Regions from separate parts of the Homo sapiens genome. Here region 1 is linked to region 2. The links are contacts of gene promoters, found by promoter capture Hi-C in blood cells and fetal thymus (Javierre and others, 2016). All regions are on one chromosome and are shown on one strand. Each heading gives the region's core, a stretch centred on a gene start or on the middle of the fragment in contact. The rest is flanking DNA. Distances are from core to core; before and after follow the strand shown.

The links. Contacts are between HindIII fragments. The CHiCAGO score rates a contact against its expected background, and 5 or more counts as called.
Region 1: the fragment with the promoter of S100A12 here is called in contact with the fragment with the promoter of LCE2C in region 2 in 4 of 17 cell types (endothelial precursors, total B cells, non-activated CD4 T cells and 1 more); the score reaches 9.3 in endothelial precursors.

The regions. Positions count from the first base shown.
Region 1 is chr1:153,374,259-153,377,376 of GRCh38, forward strand. It overlaps S100A12 (S100 calcium binding protein A12), which reads right to left and starts at 1,363. Exons shown (of 3, transcript NM_005621.2): 1 at 1,294-1,363; 2 at 197-354. The coding sequence starts at 334. The HindIII fragment of the contact is 5,829 bases long and covers 1-1,461 here.
Region 2 is chr1:152,673,286-152,676,587 of GRCh38, forward strand. LCE2C (late cornified envelope 2C) reads left to right here and starts at 1,994. Exons shown (of 2, transcript NM_178429.5): 1 at 1,994-2,043; 2 at 2,710-3,284. The coding sequence starts at 2,731. The coding sequence ends at 3,063. The HindIII fragment of the contact is 8,836 bases long and covers 133-3,302 here.

The DNA.
Region 1 (3,118 bases), core at 113-2,612, 700 kb after region 2:
TGAGTAGAGCCTTAAGTGAGTTATTGAGAGAGGGAAGCAAAGGACCTCTCCCACAGCAGCGGGGAGAGCATCCTTTGGGAGCTCAAACTGGGGCCAACCCCACCCCAGTCCTTGTCCCACCATCCTCTGCCAGGCCTTGCCACTCCCCTCAGTGCAGGGTCATGGGCAAGTTTGCAGTGAGAGGGGCATCACCTACCTTGATGGTGTTTGCAAGCTCCTTTGTAAGCAGCTGCTTCAGCTCACCCTTAGAGAGGGTGTCAAAATGCCCCTTCCGAACTGAGTATTGGTGGAAGATATTGACAATTCCCTCCAGATGCTCTTCAAGTTTTGTCATCTTCCCAGCCTAATGTTAACCTTCAAGGAAACAAGGGAAGTCTAGAGGCAGTTTCTCCCCCACCCCTCAACCTCCACTCTCCCCTCTCTTTCTGAATCAAGGGCCTAAAGAAAACATAACATCCTCCATATCTATTTTGTGGTCTCTGCTCTGTTTGATCCATGGTGAACTTCTCATGTGTGGATAGGATGGGGAGGAGAAAACATATAATACTGTCTAACGTCTAAAAAAATCAGCCTCAGTTGCCCATGTTCCATACCACCTCATCCACCGGGGTGCATAACTTGGAGGGTATTGCTTACTCAAGGTCCCTTGGGAAGGGTTCTGTGATTGGCCAGGCTGTTTGCTTTCCTCAGGTGATGGCACTATGGCCACATATCCCCCACAAATGGTCCATAACCCACCCCTGCTTAGCCATTCTTTTTTTGTTGTTGTTGTTTTGGGTTTTTTGTTTGTTTGTTTGTTTGTTTTTGAGACGGAGTCTCACTCTGCCGCCCAGGCTGGAGTGCAGTAGGGCGATCTCGGCTCACTGCAAGTTCTGCCTCCCGGGTTCACGCCATTCTCCTGCCCCAGCCTCCCGAGTAGCTGGGACTACAGGCACCCGCCACCACGCCCGGCTAATTTTTTGTATTTTTTTAGTAGAGACGGGGTTTCACCATGTTAGCCAGGATGGTCTCGATCTCCTCACCTCATGATCCGCCCGCCTCGGCCTCCCAAAGTGCTGGGATTACAGGCGTGAGCCACCGTACCCGGCCTGCTTAGCCATTCTTAAATCATGGGACTGAGTCTACATAGCACAACAAGAGCTGATCTACTTGGGTCCAAAATGCAATATCACCCCAGAGGTGCTCAGGCAAGTGGAGGGTTGTGGTTTCCAACACCTTGTGATTTCAAAGTGGTCACCTGCAGTCACTACCCTGTGGACCACCTAAGAACCCATCCAAGGAAAATGCACTTACCCCTCAATGCACAGGAATGTGGAGCTACAGCAAAAAGCCAGCAGTGGTGAAGGGCACTGAGCCAAGGAAGGTTTTATAATCAGTTCAGGCTTCATCTTAGCCCTTGGGTGAAGAAATCTCTGATTCATCTTGAGGCAATTTATGTAAAGTACTCTGTTGCTCAATAGAAGCTTCAAACCTGTGGCTTAGGCTGCCACAGGAGCAGCCCAGATTGTACCCAGACTGAATTTTGCCCTCCTGCTCAGCCTGAAACAAAATCACCCCCACTCCACCCACCCGCACAGGGGTGCCCTGAACCTTTTTTAGCCCTGAGCCAGGGCCCAGGTTTCAGGTTTAGCTCTACTCCACTGCTCCCTAATAAAAGACTAGGAGAACAAACTTTACAGCCTGAGTGTCTTGTTTTAACAGATGAGGTTACCAGCTCTTCAGTTTTGGCAAATGGAATATCAACTTAAAGATCTTTATGCAGCTAAGGAGATAGGTAGGGAGACCTCCTCCTAAGTCGTTCTGGGATGCAAAGTTCATCACTGGAGCAGAGGATCAGTTTTCAAAATAGATTCCAAGGTTTTCAAAAAAGGAGAGAGCAATGCTACTATGCCTCCCCTTTGCTTTCCCAACTTTCTAACTTGGCTGTTACAAAGACCTAGAAAGCTGGAGTAGGGTAATCATTGTGTGTGAAGAAAGTTCACCATGCCTAGGTTACTTTACCATGTTCATGAGTTCAGTAAGACAGAACATTCACACGAGTTTTAGTAAAGCAACTTTATTACTCACAGAGAGGCAGCAAGGGACAACAGATGCCCAGGATTCATGGAGAGGTGGTCCTTCAAGATTCAGAAACCTGCCCAAAATGGATTAAGTCTCATCTGTACATTCCCCATGTCGCACCAAAGCTAAGGGACATCCAAAAGCACTCTGCCCTTGGTTTATGCCTAGAGGTCAATAAGATTGCTGAGCAATCAAGGCCATGCCAGAACCTGTGCTGCCATCTACCCCACAACACAGATATCCCCCTTAGCAAAGCTAGTTCATTTCATGTGCCCACCGACCTCTCTGGATCTGGAGGCAAAAGTCTGTCTCTCCGATCCATGTGTCACCTTGACTGACACAATCTCAGTGCAACATTGTTAAGCCATTGACAGTATTTGTTTCACTAGGCCCAGGAGGACACCACCAGAGCAGGATGATCAGGCTTGTGTAAATCAATGACAATGACCAAGGTGAATCTCAATCATTTTAGGAGGTTTATTTGGCCAAAGTTAAGGATGCGTGCCCAGAGGTAGGTCTACGTCTTTCTCCAAAGATGATTTTGAGGGCTTCAATATTTGAAGGAGAAACAGTGGATATTGGGGGAAGAGGAAGAAATATTTTTTAAATGTGTCAGTAGATAAGAGACAAGTGATTGCATCCTTTTGAGTCTTTGATCAATCTTTCACTGAATACACAATTTTCATGTGGGAGCGGAGTAGAGGAAATAGTCACTTATGCCTTCATCTGGCTCAGTGAATCTGCATTTTTACATAAGATAACAAAAATAGGGGAGAGGAAGCAATCAGATATGGATTTGTCTTGGGTGAGCAGAGGGATGACTTTATGTTCTGCCCTTTGTCCCACACCTGTGAAGATAAGCTGTCAATTACACTGCCAGGGTGAAATTCAATAGAACTGTTTTAGGGTAAAGATCTTGAGGCTCACAAGGAATTTCCTTGTGGGCAAGTTGTGAGATTGGTGTATGGCTTTTTATCTTTGTAGCTATCTTATTTAGAAACCAACCTGGGTGGGGGCAGGCTTGCATGACCCATTTCCCAGCTTGACTTTTCCCTCT
Region 2 (3,302 bases), core at 744-3,243:
GCTACTTATTATTCACCTCTATATCCCTATATTTGGACATACATGATTCAAGAACGTTGTAGGCTTTCAAAGAATGCCTTTTGAATTCACTGCTCTGACCACACTGTTGACTTACTTTATCCTTCAGGTAAAAGCTTCCTGAGAGCAGGAATCAGATCTGATAATAGGATTGCATAACTAGGAGAACAGAATCCCTCAGTTAGAAGCTGACAATGGGAAACTATGCTTTCTCCGCATCCTCCCCTCCCCCACTAAGTAGGCATTAGGCAATGTGAAGGCACAGTCTGTTTCTGTTTTAATCAGAGGTGTGAATATCTATTTTTTTCAATTCTAATTTTTAACACCTTTATTGAGATGTAATTAACATATTTGTAGTTCATTTGTTTAAAGTGTAAATTCAATGGTTTTCAGTATATTCACAGAGTTGGACAATCACCACCATAATTTTAGAACATTTTCATTACTTCACAAAGAAAACCTGTATCCATTGGCAGTAACTTCTCAATATCTCCCAGCCCGCTAAAGCACCTGGAAGCCACTGATATTTCTCAGAGGACAGGCATAAACATAAAAGGAGATACAGGGAACAGAATCTCATCCAGGCTCTTGTTCCTCGGATGCCCTGAGTCAGCTCTTCAGGGGTCCAGCCTGGGAGAGGCTGTAACTGGCTAAAGCCTCATCCCCTTTCTATTTCCAGAGATTTGCCTACTCTACACATTTCATATAAATAACATCATACAATATGCAGTCTTTTGTGACTGGCTTCTTTCACGTAGTGTAATGTTTTCAAGGTTCACACTCAATGTATCTGTTTAAACTAAATGAATAAATGACTGGGTAACTCTGTCTAGTGCAACCCTGAATCAGAACTCTGAATAACTAGATTCCTGGCTGACCCTCTACTTCCTGGTAGGAAAGGAGTTCCCTCTGCATAGGAGCCCCAAGAAATGATGTCTACTTCCCAAGACAGGTTTCAAATAATCTAAGTGTCTGGTGGAGTTAAGCTCTCTGAGGGTAAGGGCTCTATATGGGCAATTAATGACACATAAGACCGGGGCAAGTATCCAATACATGGCATTAGTTTTTCTATTAAACATATATTTATTAAGGGTCTATCAGGCACAAAATGTCATACTTAGCTCTTTCTTGCTTCTCACTTTATATTACAAACAGCTCAGTGAGATAGGTATATCTCACTGATAGGTTTATAATGGGCATTATATGTGAGAACTGATACTCACAGTGAGTATCATAGTAATACTCTAGCAATTATTGATAATTGTTACAGCAACTTTCAGAGATTACCCAGTTATCATATGCAAGTTTTCTGATTCCAGTAGCACATTCAATACAAGTCCTCTGACTGAAGGAAATGTTTAGATTTTAGAGGGAATTGTTTATTCTCAATCATTCTCCTTGCTTTAGGTGACAGAATCAACTCAGATTTAATCCACCGAATCTGCTTGCCATGGTGAGTCGGAGGAAAAGCAGAAACACAGAGGCCAGGAGGAAGGGCTGAGAGCCTAGGCAAGGGAGGGATGCCTAGAAAAAGCCAAGGCTGTAGAAGCCCTCTGGGATGGCTGGATCCACAGCAGGACATGGAAGAGAAACTGCTCAGGGTGGAGGGAGTCATAATGGAACATTTCCACAAGGTCAGGGAAAGCTGTGGCTCAGAACTGATGTTTCCTCAGAGGACATGCATTAAAAAAATGCAGGGAACAGAATCTTGTCCAGGTGTGGGTCCCTTGGGTACCCTAAGTTAACTCTTTAGGGTTCCCACCTGGTGGAGGCTCTGACTGGCTACAGCCTCTCTAGACTGCAGCCCCAGAGAGGAGTCCTGGAAGCTCCTGAGGCCTCTTTGGATTGCAGGGACTAAGAGGCAGGAGAATGTCAGGAATGACCCAGCGTGTGCCTGGTTGTGCAAGAGCCACCTCCTGCTCTTTCCAGAGCCAAGCCTGGGCCCTATAAAAGACACATCCAGCTTCAGCATCTCATCTGCTCTGACTCCCCAGGGACGTGTCTGTGCTCCTGCGTGTGACCAGGGTGAGTGGCAACCTGGGATACCAGAGGGGTATGAGCAAGGCAGAGGGATGGGGAGGATGGAGGTAGGCTGGAGAAAGAGTTGTGTGCTTGTGTTCTGCCATACTGAGCAGGAATGGGACTCAGCCTGCCTCGAATCTGTTGAGGCTCTGAGGCCTACCGGAGCTCATATAGGTGGGGAAAGCTAACTGTGCACATCTTTTCCAATTCTGTGTTCAGTGACTTCATGTTGGTAACTTCAAAACTGCTGTGTTGGGCATATTTACACCATGGAAACTGGCAAATACTTCAAGCCAGGCTCTTTTATCTGGAGGTTTCATTGCAAAATATTTTCCAGAGGACCCCTTGGTATGTCCTGCAACACCCAGCTTGTCCTTAGGGCTTGTATTAAAGGAATAGGTACTTCAGGGAGCTGTGAATACTCTATTCGGGCTTGTGAGGATAGAGCAATCGCAGTTTCCCCTGAAAGGAAGAGTAAGAAGCTCATTCTGTTGATTTTTTATCTACGTACTTTTATCTAGAGGAAAGATTCAAGTTGTTTCTTTCAGGTTACTGATGTGATTGTATTATCTAAATATCATTCTTCTTCTACACATGCATTGATTTTAGAAGAGGTATAATATGATCCTTGGTTTGAAATATTTAAAGAGTTTCATTATTATCTTTCAGGTTGACTAAACTCCTGCCAGCATGTCTTGCCAGCAAAACCAGCAGCAGTGCCAGCCCCCTCCCAAGTGTCCTCCCAAGTGTACCCCAAAATGTCCACCTAAGTGTCCCCCCAAATGCCCACCACAGTGCCCAGCTCCATGTTTCCCTGCAGTCTCTTCTTGCTGTGGTCCCAGCTCTGGGAGCTGCTGTGGTCCCAGCTCTGGGGGCTGCTGCAGCTCTGGGGCTGGTGGCTGCTCCCTGAGCCACCACAGGCCCCGTCTCTTCCACCGGCGCCGGCACCAGAGCCCCGACTGCTGTGAGAGTGAACCTTCTGGGGGCTCTGGCTGCTGCCACAGCTCTGGGGGCTGCTGCTGACCTGGGCTACAGAAGAGCTCTTGGGACTGAATGGCCAAGAACCTGCTACGGCCTGATGGATACTCTTTCCACTTCCTCTCATTCCATTCATTGGTTGGCAGAGACCACAAAGACTCATGGGGCTTTCCTGGAAGAACTTCGTGCTTGATGTAACACCCCAATTGCAAGTCTTCTTTTCCTCCTTTACCTCATGTTATAATAAAGCTCTGATCTCTGACTCACTAAATGTCTTGGTCATT